Regions from separate parts of the Homo sapiens genome. Here regions 2, 3 and 4 are each linked to region 1. The links are contacts of gene promoters, found by promoter capture Hi-C in blood cells and fetal thymus (Javierre and others, 2016). All regions are on one chromosome and are shown on one strand. Each heading gives the region's core, a stretch centred on a gene start or on the middle of the fragment in contact. The rest is flanking DNA. Distances are from core to core; before and after follow the strand shown. Region 1 holds the start of C3orf70 (chromosome 3 open reading frame 70). Region 2 overlaps VPS8 (VPS8 subunit of CORVET complex). Region 3 overlaps VPS8 (VPS8 subunit of CORVET complex). Region 4 overlaps VPS8 (VPS8 subunit of CORVET complex).

Region 1 (5,985 bases), core at 1,492-3,991:
GATTGGCTTAAAAATGATCCAGTGGACAGGTTGGGGGCCTGGAGTGGGTGGCGCTGTAGATGAAACAAGGTTTTCTAAATGAGTTCATAATCGTTGAAACTGGGTGATGGGTACATGGGTACATGGGGGGTTATCTTCATCTCTCTATGTTTGTATATTTTGGAAAGTTTCATAATAAAAAATTTAAAAATCGTATCCCAACAACACATCCTGAAAGCTGTGTGTATATATTTGAGAGGTCACAGCAATTACCTCCTCCCGCTCCACACCAGACAGTAGAAATCAATAACGTCTTTAGGGCAAGGTGATGGAATGAGTTTCATGGTACAGAAAATGTAAAGGCTTCTCAACTTCAAATCACGTGTCTAACCTAAAATAAGGTGTTTGGATAATTCATCTTGCCTCCTAGCTAAAGTGCTATATTGCATGCTTTCTCATGCTCATTTTTTACTAGCTGAGATGGTTTATTTCATATATTGTGGAATCTTACCACATGGTTCACCCTGGGGTAAAAGTCAGGGGAAGGATCCCATACAAGTATTAGTTACTGAAATACAGAGAGGATGCCGTCATAAGGCCTTCTATGATAGGGGCAGTATTAGAGTGAGTTATAGGTTGGAGAAAGAGAAAAATAGGGTAGAACAGATGGAAAGTCCCCTTTGAAAAATTGTTGGTTGGCTTGCTGCAGTAATAATGGAGTATGGATTTCTTTGATTAAGATTTCTCTGCCTTTTACTTCCGTTATTCTGAGGTAGGTCAGACTGTGAAGTTAACAGCAGGGGTGCATAGATTTTGTGTCAGAGATGTATTCCTTTAGGATTTTTTTGAGGCGGGGAGCAGTTGGGGTGGAAGCTGATGAGATGATTCTTCATGTTTGCAACTGTTTCAATGTTAGGTTAATGGGGGAACTAGAGTTTGTGATTTTGATTCAGACCTTTCTGGAAAATACTTTTGCTGCCAAATTGAGTCTCTCCCCAATCCCTAATAAATGAAGATTTCACCAGAGTCAGATATATGCAAATTACATTTCCCTTCTCAAGCCAAGGTTACATAAAAGGGAAAATTATGAAAGATTGCTTATGGCAGCAAGGATTTTCAAGCTTGAGGATGAATTTGGTTGTTTCAAAACCATGATGAGTCTCTTGTCAGTGCAAAGCAGGAAAGGCATAAAGGAGAAAGTGGACCTGGGCATAAACATGTTCCCACACAGTGTTTGTGCTGAAAGCCTTGTTCCTTGAACAAGCATTCTTCTGTGCGTTTGGCAAATAAGGAGGGGGTGTCCCCTCCTCTTCTGTGTTCAAGGCTGGGTTCTGGCCTTGTTGCAGGGAAACACTAATTCCCAGCAGTGCACCATGGGAGCAAATGGTTTGTTTCCTCTTCAGTGAATCCAGCCTGGGGTCGGTTCTCAGCAGCAGAGCCTGGCATGGAAAATCTATTTGGAGCAACTTGTCCCCAGGAGGGAAGAGTGCGAGCCAACTGTGTGGGGAAGCCGCAGCCACCACAGGGTCAGTCACACCTGCTGGCCAGAGCAGGCGCTAACACAGAAAGGCAGAGTCCTCCGCATACATGAGTCCTGTTTGTGTGCCCACCCACTCCTATGTACCACACACACCCGATTTGATCCGTATATGCCATGTGCACACTCGACATGCCAGATACACGCACTGCACTGCCACACATATACCATACACACACCACTCTGTATTACTAAGCATACCCACCCCCACAACACGTGCACAAGCACATGCACGTCCAACTACACACATATACATATTCTGCACGCCACACACACTCAACCACACACACACCACCCACACTCCACCTCAGTTATAACATTCATTTCACATACACACGTATACACACACCTCACCAGTCACTTGCATCACGCATACCACCCACCATGTACCATGAACACACCTAACCACACACAACCACACACGCATACCCACCATACATACTCCAAATAATCATACACACGCACGCAACACACACATCCCATGCACACCAAACTACACATACGCAGACACACACACACATCAATGCACCCAGCTTTGTTGCTTTCCCGCTCAACGGAGGCGGGGGTGGGAGGAGAAGGGGGAGGGGCTGCGGTCCCGGCGAAGGTTGGGGCGGGCGCGGGAAGGCCCGGGCGCACTGGCCTGGGGTTTGGGGCGAGGCGGGCAGGGGTTGGCGGTGCTGGCCCCTGACGCGCCCTGTGGCCGCGCTGGGGCAGGAGGCCCGCCCTGGGTGGGGGGAGTGCGCGCGTGTGCACGAGCGTGTGCGCGCCTCCCAGGGGCTCCATGCCCAGACACGGGGAGGTGTGTACGAGGGAGATGTGAGACGCCTGTGGGGACAGGCTGTGTGTGTGAGATCCTCGCTACGCGATGCACCCGGCCCGGGCCACTAGGAGGTTCGGGTGGGCGTGGGCCAGGTGTGCGCAGCCCTCCGTGGAGCGTGTGGACGCGTGTGTCAGTTCTCGGTGGCCAGTGTCACTCGGGGGGAAGTGCATATGTAGGCTGGCGTGCATGTGAGTACAAAGCGGCCGAGGAGTGTGTGTTCACCACGGCCCTCCGTCGGGGTCTTTCTCCGAGGAAGGAGTGAGTATGTGAGGAGGACCTCGCTGTGACCGGCGGGGACGCCGACGGCCAAGCTCCCCAGCGGCGTGTGTGTGAGAAGGCCGGGCTCGCTGAGGAACGTCGCGCGGGGCCGACCGGCGCGCGCCTGTGCGCGTGCGTGTGCGCGTGGGGCGCGGCGCGCGCCGCGCCGGAGGGAGGGAGGCTGCCAGCCCGGACCCGGTCGCAGCGCCCGGGGCGGCTCCTCCTCGAGCCTGGGACCGCCGCGCTCCCGCCGCCGCCGCGTGCTGGCGTGACTCCCGGCCCGTGCCGCGCCCTCCCGCGTCCGCAGCCGGCTCGGCTTCCTGCCCACCCAGACGTCGCTTCTCCCGGGCTCCCGGTGTCGGCTCCGCGCGGAGGGAGAGGAAATGAGTGCGGCGGCCTCGCCGGCGTCGGAGCGGGGTTGGAAGAGCGAGAAACTAGATGAGGCTCAGGCCCTGGCGCGGAGTTGCGCCGCCCGCAGACCCGACTTCCAGCCGTGCGACGGGCTGTCTATCTGTGCCACGCACAGCCATGGCAAGTGCTTCAAGCTGCACTGGTGCTGTCACCTAGGATGGTGTCACTGTAAGTCGAGCCGCGTCTTCCCGCCTTCCGCCGCGGTCCGGGGGACGCCCGCCGGGCCGTCCGGGGTCGCTGCCGGAACTCTGCGGCCGCGGGGCTCCGGGCTCTGCCGGGGCTGCTCTGCCGGAGGCTGGGGCCGCCGTGGGCTCCGGGCCCGCCGGAGCTTTCCTTGCGCCGGACGGCTGGGGTTGGCGCTGCCTTGACGACGAGATGAAATCCCGTGGGGCGCCTCGCTTTCTTTAGCTACTTCTACAAAAGGGAGCTCCCTGTCCCAGGGAAGCGGGAATCTGGTTTTTTTTCTTTTCTTTTTCTTTTTTTGACCAAGGCGTCCAGGCGGTGTTTTGAGAAATGGGAGCGAGCCAGCTGAGTTGGCGACAGCTGTTGGGGATGCCTTTTTTCAAGGTTGCTGGTTAAAGATGCTCCTCTTTTTCTTTCTCACTTTTGTCTTCCTGGGCTGCTATTTAAAAGAAGGAGCCCTTGGATATCCAATTGTTTCCCCCTTGATTGTACCCAAATTGAGAAAAAGCGCTAATGTGGGAGGGATTGCTTCCAAGAAGTTAATATTAACAGTTTGGAAGGTCGAGCTCCTTAAATACCCAGATGTAGAATTTAGAGCCAAATAAATGAGACTTATAAAATTACAAAATAAAATGAGTGAAAGTAAGCTTAATAGTCTTAAACCAATTTATAAAAGCTAGAACCAAATGGTCTAAACCCTTTCTCTGTGTTTAGCCTCCTGCCTGTGATTTTTAAATAGATTAAACTTAAGTAGCCATTTAATTAGAATTTCACAATTTGATTAGCTAATAGTATTTGGACTATATCCGATGAATCATTCATTTTAAGAAATATATTCTAAAGTTAGTTTCCACATATATTTGTAATAGAGGGTTTTGGAGTGCTTATTTAGGACATTTTCCAAGTGATCTTAAGTTAAAATGAATTTTTCTTTGTTGAGAAAAAAATAGCTGACAACCAGGAATGCAGTACATAACAAATCCTTATTTACATTAATCGAACATAAATGAATATTTTAAATCGAATTTATGAATTCAAGGATAGAGGATCATTTTCTTTACAAATTCCAGGCACATAGAACAGTATTGATTTCTGGTGTTCCATTTGCTTATGGGCCAGTTTCTTCCTATTTCTCATTATTCCTGTTGTGCTCAGATCTGTTCTCTTTTGTTAGTATAAAGCATTGCTTCACGGTGGGACAGGGTACCGAGTTGGAAGTAGCAACTCTAGGAAACCTGGGATGCTGAAGTGCACAAGTAGAATCTGGACTTTCATTCATTTCGTGGGAAAGTATAGAATCGTTGTGTAAAATGTGAGGAATGTTCAAGATAGTCCAGGTTACTGTCTGTCTTATTTTGACAGTGTCTTCTCTAAGTACACCGTTACTGATGGGAACCTTGCAGTTTTCTCAGACAGCTTCTCCCTTCATTAGCCTTGACTCTTAAAATACTCTTCCTTATATGGAGCTGAAATCAGTTACTTTCTAACTTCTTTCTTCTGCTCCTATTTCTGCCTTATGAAATCATATAGAACAATTGAATCCTTTTTTAGATCATGGCTGTTTCAACTCTTCATATATACATTGCTGAATATACATATGAATGTCTTGCACATATGGACTGTCTTCTCTCTGTATCCCTGGCCATTCTCACAATGTCTTTCCTGAAATAGGTTTAACAATAATGTTCATTGAATGACTGAATGAAGCTAGTGATCATCTTTCTCTTAAGGCATTTCTTTGTCCTATTTATACATTTCCAGTCCCTTCTGCCTTTCCTTTTATGGAATAGTATTCAGGCTCCTAAGCATCTTGGTTGTTCTCTTCTGAACATGTGCCAAGGTGGTTTTGATCCTTTGAAGACTGTGGCCCCTAGAAAGGTAGACAATATTCCAGTTGTGGTCTGATCAGTCTAGAGTTGAACAAGACCACTACCTCCCATGTTCGAGATACTGCTATTGCTGCAGCTAGCATCACATTAGCTTTTCTGATATCTTCATCACATACTGAGCTTGCTGCTGTCAGATTGAACTAAGCTTGCCATCAAAGCCATTGAGCTGTTTTGTTTTTTTTTAACATATGTGACAAGCCACTGTTTGCCCATCTCACACTTATATTTTTGGACACAGGTACTGATCCCTTAGATATCTTTTCCTATTAAATTTCATTTCATTAGAATGAGCCTAATTTTGTGTGTGTGTGTTTTTAGATCCTGGCTCTTTCTTAATATATTTATAAGCTGTTTGTCCTAGGTTCATGTCATCCACATACTGGATACCAACAGTAGTACAGTACATGTTCATAAAAGTTACTGATAAAATTGTTGAACAAGAGAAAGCCACAGATAGAGTCCTGAAGCTTGCGGGTAGAACTGCCCTTCAGGTTGATAGCAATTCATTAATGAGCACTTGTTAGTTATGATTGTTCAAACAATTACCTAGCCACCTAGTTGCACTGTTATCCATCTTATATTTATCTTGTATATGGGTGTAATGAAAACCTGGTCAAATACCTTATTGAAATCCTACCAACACACTGTTTTTACTGCCTCTTTTTGATCTGTGACCTATCTGTACATACACTCTTTTTTTAAAAAAAAACAAGAAATTAGGTTAATCTGGTAAAACTCAGGTTGATTCCACAAATGGTTACCATTTTCTTTTCTAAATGGTTAGAAACTGTTTTAAAATAAATAATCTGAATTTAGAAAAGGATTGACGTCAAGTATACTGGACTGTCGTTGGCAGTTGTTTCTGTTTTTTAAAAAATCAGGACTACAGTTATTTGTTCTTTTCCAGT
Region 2 (5,985 bases), core at 1,534-4,033, 330 kb after region 1:
TTAGAAAGGGTCAAAGACTTGGTCTTAATGAGGCCAAAAAACAGTTTCAATGGAAGGAAATAGGGGAAAAAGGTTATAGTTAAAGAATGGAATTTCAAAATTAAAAATCTCAGAAGAAGCATAGTTTCAAAGGATGGCAATACCTAGTAACATTCTTTCATGTCCTAAATTCTGAGATCTAGGATGTCTCAGTAATCTCTAAATTTCTACTTTAAAAAGCATCGGCCAGGTATGGTGGCTCATGCCTACAATCCCAGAACTTTGGGAGGCCGAGGCCCGCAGATCACTTGAGGTCAGGAGTTTGAGACCAGCCTGGCCAACATGGTGAAACCCCGTCTCTACTAAAATATAAAAATTAGCTGGGCGTGGTGGTGGGCACCTGTAATCCCAGCTACTCAGGAGGCTGAGGCACGAGAATCGCTTGAGCCTGGGAGGTGGAGGGTGCAGTGAGCCAAGATCGTGCCATTGCACTACAGCCTGGGCGATGGAGTGAGACTCCATCTCAAAACAAACAAACAAACAAAAACAAACAAAAAAAGTGGATGTCCATTTCTTCCCAGTCTCCTTTAAGGTTGATATTAATGAACATTATAGAATATATGCATCCACATATCCTGAGAAAAGGTCTTATTTATGTTTTCTACTTCGGCCCTTTTCATTTTTCCTTCAGTCATTTTCTTTAGTACTCCCCACAGCCCCCTTATCGTCTTCATAATGGTCTACAATTTGAACTATGTTTTCTTCCACTTACGACTTGCCTGGTTCCCTGGAGGTGTAAAGTCTGGCCAGTTCCCAGCCTCATTTCCTTCTCAAGCACAGAGATAGTCATATTGCACTTTATAACCCCAACATCTAACACCATGACCCAAATACACTAGACACTCAAACTACTATTGAGGATGATAACAGTGTTATCTTCTTAGTAAACCACTAATGACTATACTTACTGTTACTCACAGATAAGAAAGTTGTTGTGCAGGAACAGTTTTCCTTCATTATGAACCACAGCTCATTCACATGAGCATTATTTTCTTTGCTGATATAATAATTTACAAACAAGGCCTTATACACAGTCCTCTAAGATTATTTTTATTTTACACTTAATAATTGAAATGAGGATGCAATTAAGGCCATTTTAACAAAACTGACTAAAATTAATCTTCTCACCTCTAAATGAAAGATTTCCTCTATATTAGAAAGTAAATAAAGGACATTTCACTGTAACAGAATATTCTTTCATGGACCAAAGCCTTCTTTATCAAAACTAAAAATGCTTAAGTCTTCACACAGAACATATAGGACACTTCTGAAGTTAGAACACATTCAAAGTTAAAATACACTCAAAGTAACAGCAACATCAAACTGATGTAAAACATAGAAATAAAAGCCATACAAGAAAAATAAAAGACATAATTGACAGAGAAAGTAGTTTGCATCCTATAAAGTGCTGCCTACAACCCTCACAGGATAGGCAAAGAAATAATAAAGACAGAGGCCCAACTCACTCGGAGCTTTGGTATACGTGGGCCTTTCTGTCAGGGAACTTTTGGGTCTTTATCTTTTGGAAAACATAACTGCGGATTTGAAATAGATTTATACATTGCAAGATCTTTCTCAAATTAGAAGCTAAAACCTCCAAGGGAAGTCTCAAGCAAGTTTTTAAAAAATGAAGACTGAGTTGAAGGGTTGTCAGCAGATGCAGGGTATATAAAACAGGCGTGCTTCACCAACCATGTCCTCTCACAGAGCCCCTTTAGAAAGCCTTTGATCTCCCAATTCAGAAAAGAATAACACCATTTCAAAACTCTGAAAAACTTTTCATTAGAAATGGTATTCATAAGATAAACTATAAAAGATTAGTTTTCTTCATGTAGAAGAGTGATGAAGCTTATTATAAGGTTGCAAGATGTTCTTTAGCGTCAGAGGACAAGCTATTTGAATATCAGTGGTAGAGACAACTTAACCATTAGCAACACATAATACAAACCTCAAAAGTGACATAAATTTTGCATCTCAATTCACTTAATAAAATATATTTTAAAGTCTGCCAAGTATTAGGCATTGTTCTGGGCACAGAGACCCTAAAGATGAACAAGAGATGGTTTATGCCCTTGAGAAGCTCACAATCTAGACTACTGCTGTCCAAGAGAACTTTCTGTGATGACGGAAATACTCTTTATCTATGCTGTCCCCTAGCCATATAGTAGCCACTAGCCACACGTGGCTATTGAGCACTTGAAATGTGCCTTGTGCAGCCAAGGAATTAAATTTTTATTTGATTATAATTAATTTAAATTTTAAACTGACACACACGACTAGTGGCTACCCTACTGGAAAGTGCGCATCTAGGTGCATGTATGATAACTAATCCAAAAAGTATTAAGATGAATGCCACACACAAAATGACAGTAATCATTAATATTCACTTACCTCATTTAGTATGCTTTCCAGTGTTGGAGGAGTATCAACTTGAGGAATATCAAACTCCTTGTCATCAATCTAAATAAAGAAAAAAAATAGTGCTCACAAAATGATGCCTTTCTGCTTATAATTGTGAGGGGTTTTAGTTGATTAAAACCACCATCAATTAAAAGACAAACTTACCACCAAAATGATCAACTCAAAAATCCACAGTAATAATCAAGTCAAGACTACAGAGTGGTTTCCTTTCCTATCTACACGTTCAGTTACCATCAAGGACATATATGCACTAACTGCACTATCCTGACAGCCCTTTCCAGAACACTTTTTTTTTTTTTTTGAGACAGAGTCTTGCTGTGATGCCCAGGCTGGAGTGCAATGGTGTGATCTCAGCTCACTGCAACCTCCACCTCCCGGGTTCAAGCAATTCTGCCTCAGTCCCCCAAGGAGCTAGGAGTACAGGCACGTGCCACCACAAGCAGCTAATCTTTTTTGTATTTTTAGTAGAGATGGGGTTTCATCATAAGGCCAGGCTGGTCTTGGACTCCTGACCTCAAGTGATCCACCCATCTCGGCCTCATAAAGTGCTGGAATCACAGGCGTGAGCCACCACGCCCGGCCTACTTTCCAGAAAACTTGTGTTGAAAGACTTTTGCATCTGCTTTCTTAAACATGACAAAACAACATCTAAGAAAACCCCTAATTTTCTAAGTTTAGACATAAGTCATAAGCAATAAGCAAAAGTCTGACATCACATTTCTTAGTTATTTCATAAATTATGGTGAGAGATAATTAGGTCAAGCAACATGCTGTTATTCTCATACTCATAGAAACCCATTAACATAATATTAAATCAAAGGGAAAAAAAAATGCTGTGCAAGATAAGGAACTACCACTGGCTCTGTGACTTTGAGAAGTCATTTACATAGCTGCATGCCAGTGTCTTCATCTATACAATGGATTATCAGAGTGTTGTGAGAGTTGTAAAGCTCAAATGACAACATGAATCAAATTGTTTCATAAACTGTAATGGACTATACAAATGAAGAGTAATGTTATCTCATAAAACTATACACGTGGGGGCCAAGAAGGGAGAACTGCTTAAGTCCAGGAGTTTGAGACCAGCCTGGGCAACATGGCGAGACCCTCTCTACAAAAAAATTAAAAATTAGGCGGGCGTGGTGACACACACCTGTGGTCCCAGCTACTTGGGAGGCTGAGGTAGGAGGATCACTTGAGCCCAGGAGGTTGAAGCTTCAGTGAGCCATGTTTGCACCACTGTACTCCAACCTGGACAACAGAGTGAGACCCTGTATCCAAAAAAAAAAAAAAAAATTATACACAGACTCCTATTAACCCATGCAAAAATGACAGACTTAGAGTCTCTGGGTCACAAAGCATACTCTAATCTACACTGGTTAAACATTATCACTTGACAGAAATTGAAATTTTTACCAGATCATTTTTGAACTCCAGTTCCTTGTCCATATCTATGTAAGAGAATTTTGAAAGTGAAGCTTCTAGATTGAAAGACTTATTCAGCTCTTCTTCGCTCGTCTTGGCACAGAGGCTCTGTTCCACATTTTCATGGTCTGGTTCATTTTCCATATTTACTTCTAATAACAGTATTCAGTCCATCAAAGCAAGTGTTTTTTGTTTGTTTGGCCTTAGCTCACGAAGACCTGAATGATTATCTCTTTTCAAAAAAAGAAAAAAACAAAAACAAAACAAAACACTATCATTTAGATTTCCTCCTTGTCAATTGGACATTCCAAAGACTTACTTGGTCAGATTTCACCTAAACATCCGATTGCAGGCAAACTGAAATTAACAGTGGGGTACAGGGTATGTTATTAGGAGAGGGTTTCAATGAGAGCATAAAGGAGGAACAGCTAACTTGGGCTCAAGGACTTTAGGAAGTGGCCCGCCACCCAAAGTCATGAAACTGGTGATAGTGATAACTTAATAGGCTCAGCCACTAGACCTGGTACCAACTAGATTTATTTACCTAACAGCATAAGGGTAAATCGGTGCCAAAAGCTGCAATTAATGCCTTCTTTACATTCCAAACCCCAGGGTAGTGCTCCAGTTCCCCTGGAAATAAGCATATAAACCAGTTTTGTTGTTGGCCTCTGCACAGGGCCACAGACGTCTCTGGGAGCTTAGCAGAAACACTGAGGATGAACAACTAGCTATTTAATACAACACGAGCAAACCTAAGGGTTCAGATCTATTAAAGGAAACAACAATGACCCCAAGATAAAATAACTCCATAGCCTACCAGAGATTTCTAGAAACAGAGCCAGTCACAGAGAAACATGGACATTTTCAGAGAGAAATGAAATACTAAAGAAAACTAGAAACTTATACAGCTTTTTATTATTTCAGAGCTCTAAATGATAGATCACACTTATATCAAAAATCACAGATAATTTGGTTTACTTGCAAAACTGTCATTTTTAGAAAGCTAAAATATACTGAAAACATTACTGTAAGTTTAATAATTAAGTCTGCTTTTAAATGATTTTACTTTGTGTTTCAATTAGGCCACAAGTGACCCAACTTTAAAAAGTCCAATTAGCTTTACCTGTTTAGGATAAAGCAAAAATATGAAAACAGAAACAATGCCCTAATAATAATAATAATAAAGATCATTTTGTTTCCTAAACTAGATGTTTTTCACAGTACCAAACAACTGGCAAAACTCTCAGTGCAAAGCTCTTTCAAACTACATACTGCCTTTAGCGTGTATAAACACCACTACCACCAACCCTTGCCCTGCAGTGAGCTTCTCTTAGTAAATTAGATTGTGTATGTTAGTAAAGATGGATTGTGCATGTTAGTGAAGGCAGAAAAAAAAGACTTGTAATTACTGAGCCACTTAATTTCTTTTAAGAAATGGAGTCTCACTATATTGTCAACGTGGCCTCCAACTCTTGGGCTCAAGCCATCCTCCAGCCTCAGCCTCCTGAGTAGCTGGGACTACAGGCATGTGCCATCATGCCTGGCTTGAAATAACTAATTTTTTAAAAAGTGAACTGAGATTAGTTGTTTTTAAACAATATGCTAAAAATTCACTGACAATTTTATCTAATGAAGCTCATTATTTTAGTACCTATAATTAATTCACTTCCTTTGATGTTTCATTTTTATCATATTAAAAGAAATGAATAGTTACCTTGTATAAATCATGGACTTATGAAACTGACTTTTCAAGAGCTGAAACCAACTTTTCTAGCTATTACACTATTTGGTATATTACCAAATACAGACTAATTTCTTTCACGTTACAGAAAATGGGTTTTCTATTTATAGGGTTGTGTCCTAATAAAACACACACTATCAAACACATTCCTAGAACACATAACTGAGGCCACTCTTTGCCTGGCAACATTTTAAAGTATCTTTCCAACATCAGGTTCTAAATATAGGGCTCCTTTTGCAATAACCCAAATGCAGTAGCAATACTAATGTTTATACTCATTTCTTCAAAGACCTTAGCTCATGACAAATTACTTTTTAATAAAGTCTTTCAACTCCTATTTGTACCACTAAGCAAAAAGG
Region 3 (5,985 bases), core at 1,109-3,608, 290 kb after region 1:
AATTTGTGGCATCACACCACATTCAGAGTTTATTCAATATAACCAGGACTCCCTCTTTCTGTGTGTGTGTGTGTGTGTGTGTGTGTGTGTGTATGTGTGTGTATACATACATATACATATATATACACACATATATACATATATATACATATATACGTATACATACATATATATACGTATATATATACACACACACATATACTTTTTTTTTTTTAAGAGACAGGGTCTCACTATGTTGCCCAGGCTGGAGTGCAGTGACTAGTCACAGGAGCGATCACTGAGCACTACAGCCTCGAACTCCTGGGCTTAAGCTATCCCAGCTCGGCCTCCCAAGTAGCTGGGACTACAGGCACGAGCCTCGGTGCCGGACTGTCCATATTTCATATGATCTTAAAGGTAATAATTCTTGGCAGAAATCCTGGTAGCTTTAATATATCATAGATTCAGAACAATTACATGAACTAAATGGGGATATTTAATTTGAATAATACTCACGGTAAAGTTGATGAGGTCATAGTATAGGTGAAGATGCTTTTGCTTAGTAACATGTATTGCTCCAGATTCATCTCTCTTTACCTGATGATGAAATAAAAACAACCTAAAAACCAGCTACTGTTTGAGGGACTTTTTTAGATATTTAATTATACTCCACCTAGAGTATCACATTTACCCATTATCCCATTCCCTGTAGATAAGCCAAAAATACTGATAATTACACAAATGATTATGAAAATAGAAAAAAAATTATTTGTTCCATTATTTACACCAAAATGCAGGGCATATCTGGGGGTGGTCTAGTTGTCAGTACTGACAAATGCTGTGACATAGTTTTCACTCTGTTATAATTCAGAACAACCTAACTTTATCACATCAATGACTATAATTAAAGTACAAAAAGGAAAGGTGACATGGTGTGAGGAAGTCAAAAGTCCATTAAAGAAAAAGAGATGCTGCAGTGATGTAAACCAGACTTTTCTGAACTATGATATTATTATGAGAGGACTCAAAAAGTTCATGGAAAATGTATACTATGAAAAAACTATGCATGGATCTCAAAAATTGTCTGCACCAAAATAAACTCATACTAACTTGTTATAACATGTCTGAAAAGGATCTAGTTTGAGGCATTAAAAAGGATAAGACATCAGTTTGAAAAGAGCCCCAAAGAGCAACATAAATTCTGCTAAAATTTAAGCAAGAACAAACATCAAATTTATGGTGAAGCTTCGGTGGAAGAATGTAAAATCACTGATGCTTAATAAAAGTTTATGGGAACAATGTCCCCAGAGAAATCAGCAGTTTACAAATGGGTAACTCGTTTTAAGAAGGAAGGAGATGATGTTGAAGGTGAAGCCTGCAGCTGTAGACCATACCCATCAATTAGTGAGGAAAAATATTCATCTTGTTCATGCCCTAATTGAAAGAGATCAACGATTAACAGCAGAAACAACAGCCAACACCACAGACATTTCAACTGGTTTAGTTTGCACTATTCTGACTGAAAAATTAAAGTTGAGCAAAGTTTCTACTTGATGGCTGCCAAAACAGTTGTGTCCAGGTCAGCTGCAGACAAGAGCAAAGCTTTTAATGGGAATTTTAAACATGTGGAATCAACATCCTGAAACATTTCTTTGAAAAACTGTAACAGGAGATAAAACATGGTTTTATCAGTGTGATCCTGAAGAAAAAGCACAAGCAAAGCAAAGGCTATGAAGAGGCAGATGTGGTCTAGTCAAAGCAAATGCAGACCAGGCAAGAGCAAAGGTCATGGCAATAGTTTTTTGGGATGCTCAAGGCATTTTGCTTGTTGACTTTCTGGAGGAACAAAGAACAATAATATCTGCTTATTATGAGTGTGTTTTGAGAAAGTTAGCCAAAGCTTTGGCAGACAAATGCCCAGGAAAGCTTCACCAGAGAGTCCTCCACCACAACCATGTTCCTGCTCATTGCTCTCATCACACAAGGCCAATTTTGAGAGCAATTCGATCCACCATACAGTACTGATTTGGCTCCTTGTGACTTTCGTCTTCTAATCTAGAAAAAGTCTATAAAGGGCACCCATTTCTCTTTAGTTAATAATGTGAAAAAGACTGCATTGGCATGATTAAATTCCCAAGACCTTCAGTTCTTTAGGATGGACTATATGGCTGGTATCATCACTTTAAAAAGTATCTTGAACAAGATGAAGCTGATGTTGAGAAATAAAATTTATTTTTATTTTTTAATTCCATTTTTCCACAAACTTTTTGAAGTTCCCTTGTGTAACTCTTGCAGCCCAAAATTTCCCAAAAGGACCTTGAGTGTCAATCTTTTATTTATATGTATATAAGTACACACTCTATATCCTCAGTCATCCTTATAATTTGCTTCTTCCCCTTCTGCTCCAAGGTAACAGAACACTGAAGAAATATAAAGCACAAGATACACCCGACCACCTGAAATTCATGGCATTCAATTCAACCTGGGCTTTCTTGCACACTCCCCATAGTAGTATCATAGATGTCTTTCCCTTTAAGTTACCTTCTGATCCCATCACTTACAGTGGTGACCTCACCTGATATCTTAACAAAAATCTGAAACCACTTAATGTGGGCCCTTCATGTGGACCCCTCTTCACTTCACTAAATCACTTCTCCCTTAAGAAAAGATCTTTTGGTAAAATGAACATGGGATCTAGAGCCATATATCTAAGTTCCACTATTATACCCGTGTGACCAAGGGCAGTCACCTACTCTTTCTCAGTTTCCCGAGAATATATGGTCCACAGATACTAAAATATTTACTTTGTGGCCCTTTACACAAAAAGCTTGCTAACCCCTGATCTAGATTAATAATGATTGGCCTAGACTGGTAATGGAGTCATCACAGGTTCCTAAGTAATTAAAGTCATAAAGACGGGATTAAAGTGACATTTTAGGAAGATCAGTCTTGAAGTAGCAAAAAGAATACACACAGAAGGGAGGAGAAACATTAAAGGTTTTTCTCTCATAATAAAGCACATGTAAGGTGTTTATACAAAGAGGGTTGGTTGCAGTGAGAGTTAAGGGATGATACTTTCAAGGAAAAACAAGCCTTCTCATCATATTGGATCTAGAGACTGAAGGACATGAATGAAACATCCCATTTCTGACTTTACATTTTAGAATCAAGAAATATTTGAAGAGATACTGTTTAGGAAGAAAATGATTAAGGAATATTTCAATGTGTTGAGTTGAAAGTAAAGATAGGACTCTCAAATGTTGTATTGGGGATGTTCTAATAAAACTTTATTTATAAAAACAGACGGCTGGCCAGATTTGGCGCATGGGCCATAGTGTGCCAACCCCTACTATCAATCCACCCCATCTATTCAATTATATTTTCCACCACAAGTTTCTCTTTGTCATTAATTCTATAAACATTTACTGAATATTTACAATATACAAGCACTGTCCTAGTGGCTGGAAATATAACAGTAAAGATGGTCTCTAGAGTTATGGAGCTTTCTGTCTAGTGGGGAAGAAAAATATTAGACAAGTAATTTTAAAAGTGCTGAATGTGGCCAAGCACAATGGCTCACACTTGTAATCCCAATATTTGGGAGGCTGAGGTGGGAGGAACGCTTGAGGCCAGGAGTTCGAGAGTCAGCCTGGGCCTTGGTTGGAGACCCGCAAGACCTCGTCCCTCTTTTGTTTTTTTTTAAGTGCTGAATGTTATCAAAAGATGCATGTAACTAACTTAGTTCAGAGGCCAGGGAAGGTCATGTTAATCATGAGCTCAGAGACAACAGAAGATAGCACAGAACTTTCCTGGCAGAGGCAACAGTATATGTAAAAGGCACTGAGGCCAGAGACTAGCTAGGAAGCTATGGCAGAATCCAGGCTAGACATGTACATGATTTAGACTAAGGAAACAGCAATGGGGGAGACAAAAAAGGAGAAATTCAAGAGATTTTTGGAGGTAGAGTCAATAGGACTTGGTGATAGAGCACATATGAAGAGAGAAAGGTAACTGAAAAGTAACTCGTAAGTTTCTGGCTGGAGAAACTAGGTGGACAGTGGTGAACTTGCTTCACTGAGCTAGGAAACGCAAGAGATTATTAATACAAAGGCACATTCTTGCCTCTGTGACTTCAGTTCATCTCACTTCCCCCAGTATGCATACCTACCCTTCCTGCAGTAGTTGCAGTATATCCTTCATAAAGCCATTAATACTCTCTCTAGTCCATACTAATCACTTTGTACTCTGAATTTACATCAGCTTGATTTTCATCACATAGTTCAATCCTTAAACCATTTTCTGTAGTAATAATGAACACACTGATTTTGCTTTTCAAACAAGATTATAAGCTGTGTGGAAGATGAAATTATGTTGTATACTTCCTTCTTTCCTTTGCTGCTTGTGCCCATCACAGTGTAGAGGACATAATAGGTGCTCAATGATACTTGCTGTCATTAATACACACATATGTAGTTGCACATACATTAACACATATTCACATTCATATCTTTATACATTTACATATACCATTAATTATTTGTCAGTCAAAGAAATGAAGCTGAGAAATAAACCATGAGAAGTTATGTAGCTGAGAGTGATCACCATTTTCCGATGCTAATCATTAAAGCCTTAGATAAAAATTAAATAGGTCACTCTCTCTCCAAAGACTTAGGATAGTAACACAAATTTCTCTGACACATTATTAATTGCTGATGAATAAAAAAAATTGTAAGAGGCTTTCTAATGGTCATATTAGGACTTACCAATAGAAAATGAACAACATCTCCTCTGCAGAAGGCAAGCATGGGATTCACGTAATTTTGTACTGCTACAAAGTGCCAGGCCAGCAGTGGCACACTGGAAGGATCCATCTAAGTAGGGAGATGGAAAAAAAAAATCATCACAGTTAATAAACAAGGGGACAAAGAGAAAACTATGGTTAAAAACAGCATCTGACTAGTGTTCCTTGATAAAAACTTTCCCCAATTTCTCAGTAAAGCAAGAACTAACTGGGAGGTATCATGAGGGAACTTTCTGGGTTGATGGTAATGTTCTACATCTTGATAGGCATTTGAGTTACAAAAGTGTTAAGCATTTGTCAAAGTTCAGCAAATGTACACTCAAGATCTGTGCATTTCTTTGTATGTATATTCTACACCAAAGGAAAAACCTAAAGAAGTATTAAACTCTAGCTAATAATATGCATGCTAAATATTTAGGGGAAAGAATACTGGTTTCTGAAATTTCCTTTGAAATACATAAAAAATATAATTTGATAAGTGGACAGAGGGATGGGTAGATGGACAGATATGTAATAAAGGGCAGTAAATGTTAATTATAGAATTTAAATGGTAGCTATACAAGTATTCAATGTAAAATTCAATTTTGTTTGAAAATGTTTATAATAAAATGTTGAAAAAAAACAATAAAAACATACAAAAAGAAGCAAACACATAACACCATGAAAAAAATCTCAATTCGCCAATGAAGCTAATCTAACAAATGTTAATGGCCATCTAAGCCAGTTTTGCCATCTGAAAGGATAGACCTGCTTCCCCTAGGGCCCAGAGACACACAGGGTACCAACAAGAAAACAAAAGTGAGTTCCTTCACCATAGGGAACGCTTTCTGCACCAGCCAGAGTTCTGTACCACCATTCTCCATCCCATCCTATCAACACCTCTCCTCATATATACATTGGAAGATTACAACTCTGAAAACAATCAAGAAGAAAAAAAAGGGAAAACTGGGATATAAATAACACATGCTAGGAAGTATCATCCTCCAAAGTAAATTATCAGAGGCAGAAGCCAGGGAAAGCACATGTAATAGCAATCTATGGCGCATATTACAGTGGGGTCTACTCTATCCATAGTTCAGTGCCAAAGCTGCAGGCAGTGAGTATAAGCCTGTCTCAGCACAGCAGCCATGTAAAAACAAGTATCTTTCAAACACTGAAAATCAGGGCTTGGACTCAATAAATCAACTTATCCTTCAACTTTAAAT
Region 4 (5,985 bases), core at 1,742-4,241, 270 kb after region 1:
TATGAAAACAAATCCTATACAATCCCTTCCACAAAACAGAAAAGGAGCAAACATTTCTCAATTCATTTTGTTAAGTTAGTATTACCCTGATACAAAAACCTGAAAAGCCATTACAAAAAAAACTACAGACCAATGTTCTTCATAAAGATGTAAAAGTCCTTCACAAAATATTAGGAATGATAATTCACAATTACATAAAAAGAATTATACCTCATGACCAAGTGAGGTTTATTCCAGGATGCAAGACTGGTTCAATATTCAAAAACCAATCATTACGATATGCCATGCCAATAGCCTAAAGAAAAAAAATCACATGATCATATTAATTACATAGAAAAAGCAACTGACAAAATTCAATATCCATTCATGAAAACCCTCTTAGAAAAACTGTAATAGAGGGGAACTTCCTCAACTTGATAAGAAGTAACTACAAAAAATCTACAGCTAATATTATACTTCATAGTGAAAAATCAAATGTTTTTACCCTAAGACTGGGAACAAGGCAAGGATGTCTGCTCTCACCTCTCTTCAATACAATGCTGAAGTTTTAGCCTATGCAATAGGCAAGAAAAGGAAAAAAATAGCACACAGATTGGGAAAGAAAAAAAAAAACTGTCTCTGTTGGCAGATGACATGAGTGTCCACATAGAATATCCCAAGGAATCTACAAAAAGCATTCTAGAATTAATAAATGAGTTCTACAAGATTGCAGAATATAAAATAAACATTCCATATGCCATTACTGAACATATGAATACCAAAATTAGAAATTCAATACCATTTAAAACTGCTAAGAAAAAAAGAAATATTAGGCGTAAATCTAAAAAACCATGTATAGCACCTGTATACTAAAAATTACAAAAAAAGTGAAATAAATGGAAAAACTAGGAAACTCAGCATAGTAAAAATATCAGTTCTCCTCAAACTGATGTGTTTAATGTAATTTATATCAAAATTCCCACAAGATTTTTCATAGATATAGACGAGATTATTCTAAAATTTATATGGAGAGTCAAAGAAATTGGAATAGTTGAAGCAATTTTCATAAAGGAGGAGGAATCGGTCTACCCAATTTCAAGACTTACACAGCTACAGTTATCAAGATTATGTGGTACTGGCAGTGGGATAGGCACACGGATCAATGGAACAAAATAGAAAACCTAGAATTAGATTCACTATATAAGCCCAGCTGATTTTTGACAAAGCTGGTAAAGCAACTGAGTGGAGGAAAGAAGGAAAGTATTGCCTTTTCAACAAATAATGCTGCAATTAGGTATCTATACACACACACAAAGGAACTTCGACCTCAGTCTCATATCTTATGTAAAAATTAACTCAAAATAGATCACACATTTAAGTTACACACAAAACTGTTAAAACTTCCAGAAAAAAACATAGGAGAAAATCTTCAGGATCTTAGGCTAGGCAAAGAGTTCTGAGACTTGATTTCAAAAGCACAATCATACAAGGAAAAGCTGATAAATTGGATTTCATCACAATTAAAACCTTTGGTTTGCAAAAGATCCTGTTAAGAAGGATGAAAAGAAAGCTACAAACTGGGAGAACCAAGTCCAATAACGGACTAGTGCCTTGAATATATTAAAACCCTAAAAATTCAACAGTATGATGAGAAACAATCCAGTTAGAAGAGAGGCAAAACCCATGCAGAAACATTTCACAAAAGAAGATATACATGTGGCAAATAAACACATGAAAAGATGTTTAACATCATTAGTCATTAGGGAAATGCAAATTAAAGCCACAATGAGATACCATTATGCACCTACCAGAATAGCTAAAATAAAACAGTGACTTCATCAAATGCTGGATGTAGACTAGAAACTGGATCACTTACACACTGCTAGGGGAATGCGAAATGGTACTGGCATTCTGGAAAACTATTTGGCAGTTTCTTTTAAAATTAAACATTCAACTATCATATGATCCAACAATTGTAAACCTGGACATTTCTCCTAGAGAAAAGAAGACATGTTCACACAGCAACATATACAGAAATGTTTAGAGCCACTTTATTTTTAACAGCCCCAAACTGGAAACAACCCAGATATTCTTCAACCGGTAAAATTGTTAATCAAACTGTGGCTCATCCATACTATGGAATACTACCCAGCAATAAAATGCAACCAACTACTGATATGTGCAACAACCTGGGTGAATCACTAAGGAATTATTATGCTGAGTTTAAAGAGTCAGTCCCAAAAGGTTACACACTCTATGATTCCATTTATATAGCATTATTGAAATTATAATTTATAGAGATGAGGAACAGACTACTGGGTATCAGAGGTTAAGGAGGGGGTGGGAGCAGAAGAGAAGTGGGTGTGGCTATAAAAGGGTAAAATGAGGGATCCATGTGGTGATGAAAATGTTCTGTATCTTTACCTTATCAATATCAATATCCTGGTTATGCGACTGTACCATAGTTTCATGAGATGTTCTCTTATTGGGGAAAATTGGTTTAAGGGTATGGGATCACTTTGCATTATTTCTTGCAACTGAGTATGAATTTACAAATATCACAAAATCACTAATTTTAAAAAAACCAAATACACATACTTTTTATGCCTGCCACTAACTGTTCCTAACTCAATTAAGGCAAAACCATCCAAATTAACACTTTCAATCTGGCTTCTTAAAGAAGCCAGGTCTTTATCAATTTAGAACATTTAAAACCATAAGTAAAACAGAGTATTAGTTAAAGCCAAATCTATTTCCATATTTTAAGCTTTGCTTCCCAGAATCAGATTACAGAGAGACAAACTATATTGTCCAGTGGATAATCCCTGATGGCAATCTCTTAGATGCCTGAAAATGAGCTAAGTGGGATCAGTAGCTCTCCATCTCCCAACTGGCAAGGGCTACACAAAGACTCAACTTCCTACAGAATCCTCACAGAGTTGCCTTGCTCCACAGAGCTGGGCAGCTGGCATTTCCCGGACTAGTAAACAACCACCTGGAGTAGCTGGTGCCCAAGCTCAGATAATATCCCTCTAAACTCATTTGGAAGGCTCCTCTCATGAGAGCCCTGAAAGAAAGCAGAATGGGAAAGAACAAGTCCTTCTCTTGCAGCAAAGCCCTCAGTTCATACAGCCAGACCTGGTCTACATATGCCTCTCTACAGGATGCTGACAGATTAAGGGCTTTCGAGATAGACACTGTGAGCAATACCTGCTTTAAGAATATTAAGAATATTCTACTCAGTCTCAAAAGCTTGCAGGATGCAAGAAATCACTGAATTTGGGGTCTCCAAAATTAAAAAAAAGAAAACAAGTAACTATTTCTCTAATCTCTTCTTCAATGTATGGGCTATAATGGGCCAAAAAAGACTGCTTCTCTTGTCGGATATTCATGTATATTTAAGATGTATTAAAGAAGGCAATGTGGATATACAAATAAAAAACTGAGCTGACAGATAACCTAAATTTGAGCCTGTCAATGGTTTGAGTGACTGAATAAATCATTTTATTGCATTGTGACTATCTTACCATCTGTGAAGTGAAGACATAATCTCTGGTTTTCCCTATTTCATGGGATGATTTGAAAAGAAATAACAGATGCAGATTCCTTTGCTTTTTGGAGCGATGGTACTAATTCTCTTAATTTATATTCTAAAAGACTATCAGATAAGGAAAACTTGACTGTGTGAAAATGATTCAAAATTATATATACATACATATGTATACACGCATACACCAAAACAGATAAACATATCTATCTACACACAGATATACACACACAGATAAATCTCCACAGGCTACCAGAGCTAGGCAGCTGGTATCCCCAGGATTGGTATACAAACATCCCAAACAGCAATATAGATTAGATTATCTCTCTGCATGTATATGTGTGTATGTATTTTTCTTTTCTTCTTTCAGGTATGATGATAAAATAATCTAGGAAAGACCTGACTCCTCAGAACCAGCACTTTAATCAAGCCTCAGGGATAGGGCAATGTGCTAGACATCAACACTCTTTTCCTCTCCTCAAATCTTCTCAGAGGAGGTATGGGTTAGACAAGGAAAGCTCCTACTGCCTCGCTCTGTGTTTGGCTTGTAGTCACTGTCCACTCTTTGACATTACCTCTTAATGCAAAAATATATGCCTACAGCTGCTACAAAAATAGCCTTGAATTATCTGACCCTCATAGAAATGTGAAATGAAGCTGGAAGGAGAGCTTAGTAACGATTAACATAAGGCTTCATTAAGATCTTTTAGGTTAGGCGCAGTGGCTCACACCTGTAATCCCGGCACTTTAGGAGGCCGAGGCGGGTGGATCATGAGGTCAGAAGTTTGAGACCAGCCTGGCCAACATGGCGAAACCCCATCTCCACTAAAAGTACAAAAATTAGCTGGGTGTGGTGGCGGGCACCTGTAATCCCAGCTGCTCAGGAGGCTGAGGCAGGAAAATAGCTTGAACCCGGGAGGCAGAGGTTGCAGTGAGCCGAGATCATGCCACTGCACTCCAATCTGGAGGACAAGAGTGAGACTCCATCTCAAAAAAAAAAAGGGTCTTTTAAAATTATATTATTTTTCAAATCCTTTAAGCTTGATTCACATTACAGCATTAAAATGCCTCATTATTTATACCTCTACGTTGTTTCAAAAACAAATAAAAACACATATATTAAGCATAGCAAAATAAAATAACCCAAAATACTGTTTCCACAGTTAACTGATTAGCAGTGGTTTCTTAGTTTGAAAACACTGCTAGCAACTCAAATCAGTCAATTGTTCAGGTATATTTACCATGGTTATGCTAAAATTCATTTGTATTTTCTTTTTCATATATTTCAATATCCTCCCAAAACTCATAAATTACTTAGTCCTCTCTGTTTCAAAGTGAGTTACATAACAACACATTGGTCTGAGATTATCAAAGAATAAACTGTGGGATGAAACATAGTACAGTACAGGGTCGAGGCTCCTGAGCCAGGCAGCCTGGGTGTGTATCTATGGTGGTTCTATTCACCGGTTCAATGATATTGGGCAAGTTACTCAACCCCTTTGTGTGTCTATTTCCTCTGGAAAATGGAGGTAAATAATAAGCACTCCTCAAGTACGTTATAAGGACTAAATAAGATAGCCATCAGGCATACAGCACACCACATGAGCCATCATTATGACATATGTGTTGCAAATACTAAGTCCTACATTTGGTTCTTAGCTCAAACCTCTTAAATTGAAAGCATGCTTTCAAAGCAAGCTCTACAACATAAGTTCATATATTTTTAAAAATTCTCTCAACAACTATTTATCAAGGACACTGAACCAGATGCTGGGCATACGGCAATGACAAAAAACAGACATGTTCCTAAACTTACACAGGTCCCTAAACATACATAGGCTAGCTGCAGAAAACTGACATTGAATGAGTGACTTCAGTGCATAGTATTTTAGAAAGAAATGGATCTGAGTTAATCTGGGGGACAATTACACTGAGACCTGAAAATAAACAGAGCTAGTTGAGCTACAAAGAAATGAGAAAGGATTTTTTATGCAGAGAGAACACTGTGCACAAAGGCTCTGGGTAAAGAGAGAACAGGGATGTTAAGACACTGGAAAGAACTCTAGTATAACAGCAATACAGAGAATTAGGAGCAGTTAGGCAAGCGTAGACCATGCAGAGCCTTAGAAAATGTTAGGGAATTTAGTCTCTACCTCAGAAACAATAGGAAGTCCTTAAAATATTTTAAAATTAGGAAAGCATCATATCTAGATTTGATATACATTTCTCTTTGGCTGCTGTGTAGAAAATGAAATGAAGTACAGTAAGAATGTGTACAAAGAGATCGATTTGGAGAATTCTATAATATACCAAGAGGGAAATGATGGGCACTTAGACTAGGATAGTGGCAGAATTAACAGCATGGTGGAAACAGATGAGAGAAACTGTCAGGAGGCAGAATAGCCAGGAACAAGTAAAAGACAAGAATCACCCAATTTGCATTAGGTGCATGGTGGATC

Evidence for each region. The method cuts DNA at HindIII sites, captures the fragments that hold promoters and counts their contacts. A CHiCAGO score of 5 or more calls a contact.
Region 2: a fragment that was not itself captured here is called in contact with the fragment with the promoter of C3orf70 in region 1 in 1 of 17 cell types (endothelial precursors); the score reaches 5.1 in endothelial precursors.
Region 3: a contact is called between a fragment that was not itself captured here and the fragment with the promoter of C3orf70 in region 1, in 1 of 17 cell types (endothelial precursors). The highest score is 7.5, in endothelial precursors.
Region 4: a fragment that was not itself captured here is called in contact with the fragment with the promoter of C3orf70 in region 1 in 3 of 17 cell types (endothelial precursors, megakaryocytes and erythroblasts); the score reaches 11.1 in endothelial precursors.

What each region holds. Positions count from the first base shown.
Region 1 is chr3:185,149,816-185,155,800 of GRCh38, reverse strand. C3orf70 (chromosome 3 open reading frame 70) reads left to right here and starts at 2,741. Exons shown (of 2, transcript NM_001025266.3): 1 at 2,741-3,173. The coding sequence starts at 2,978. RefSeq lists an enhancer at 2,556-2,695 and a silencer at 3,116-3,335. The HindIII fragment of the contact is 2,735 bases long and covers 1,103-3,837 here.
Region 2 is chr3:184,822,677-184,828,661 of GRCh38, reverse strand. It overlaps VPS8 (VPS8 subunit of CORVET complex), which reads right to left. Exons shown (of 48, transcript NM_001009921.3): 2 at 3,877-4,117; 3 at 2,431-2,499. The coding sequence starts at 4,029. Among named protein-coding and RNA genes, the nearest start is that of VPS8, 14 kb to the right of the region's middle. The HindIII fragment of the contact is 1,788 bases long and covers 1,890-3,677 here.
Region 3 is chr3:184,854,576-184,860,560 of GRCh38, reverse strand. VPS8 (VPS8 subunit of CORVET complex) reads right to left here. Exons shown (of 48, transcript NM_001009921.3): 14 at 4,743-4,850; 15 at 496-576. Among named protein-coding and RNA genes, the nearest start is that of VPS8, 45 kb to the right of the region's middle. The HindIII fragment of the contact is 901 bases long and covers 1,908-2,808 here.
Region 4 is chr3:184,876,659-184,882,643 of GRCh38, reverse strand. The region is part of intron 21 of VPS8 (VPS8 subunit of CORVET complex); the gene reads right to left. Among named protein-coding and RNA genes, the nearest start is that of VPS8, 67 kb to the right of the region's middle. The HindIII fragment of the contact is 485 bases long and covers 2,749-3,233 here.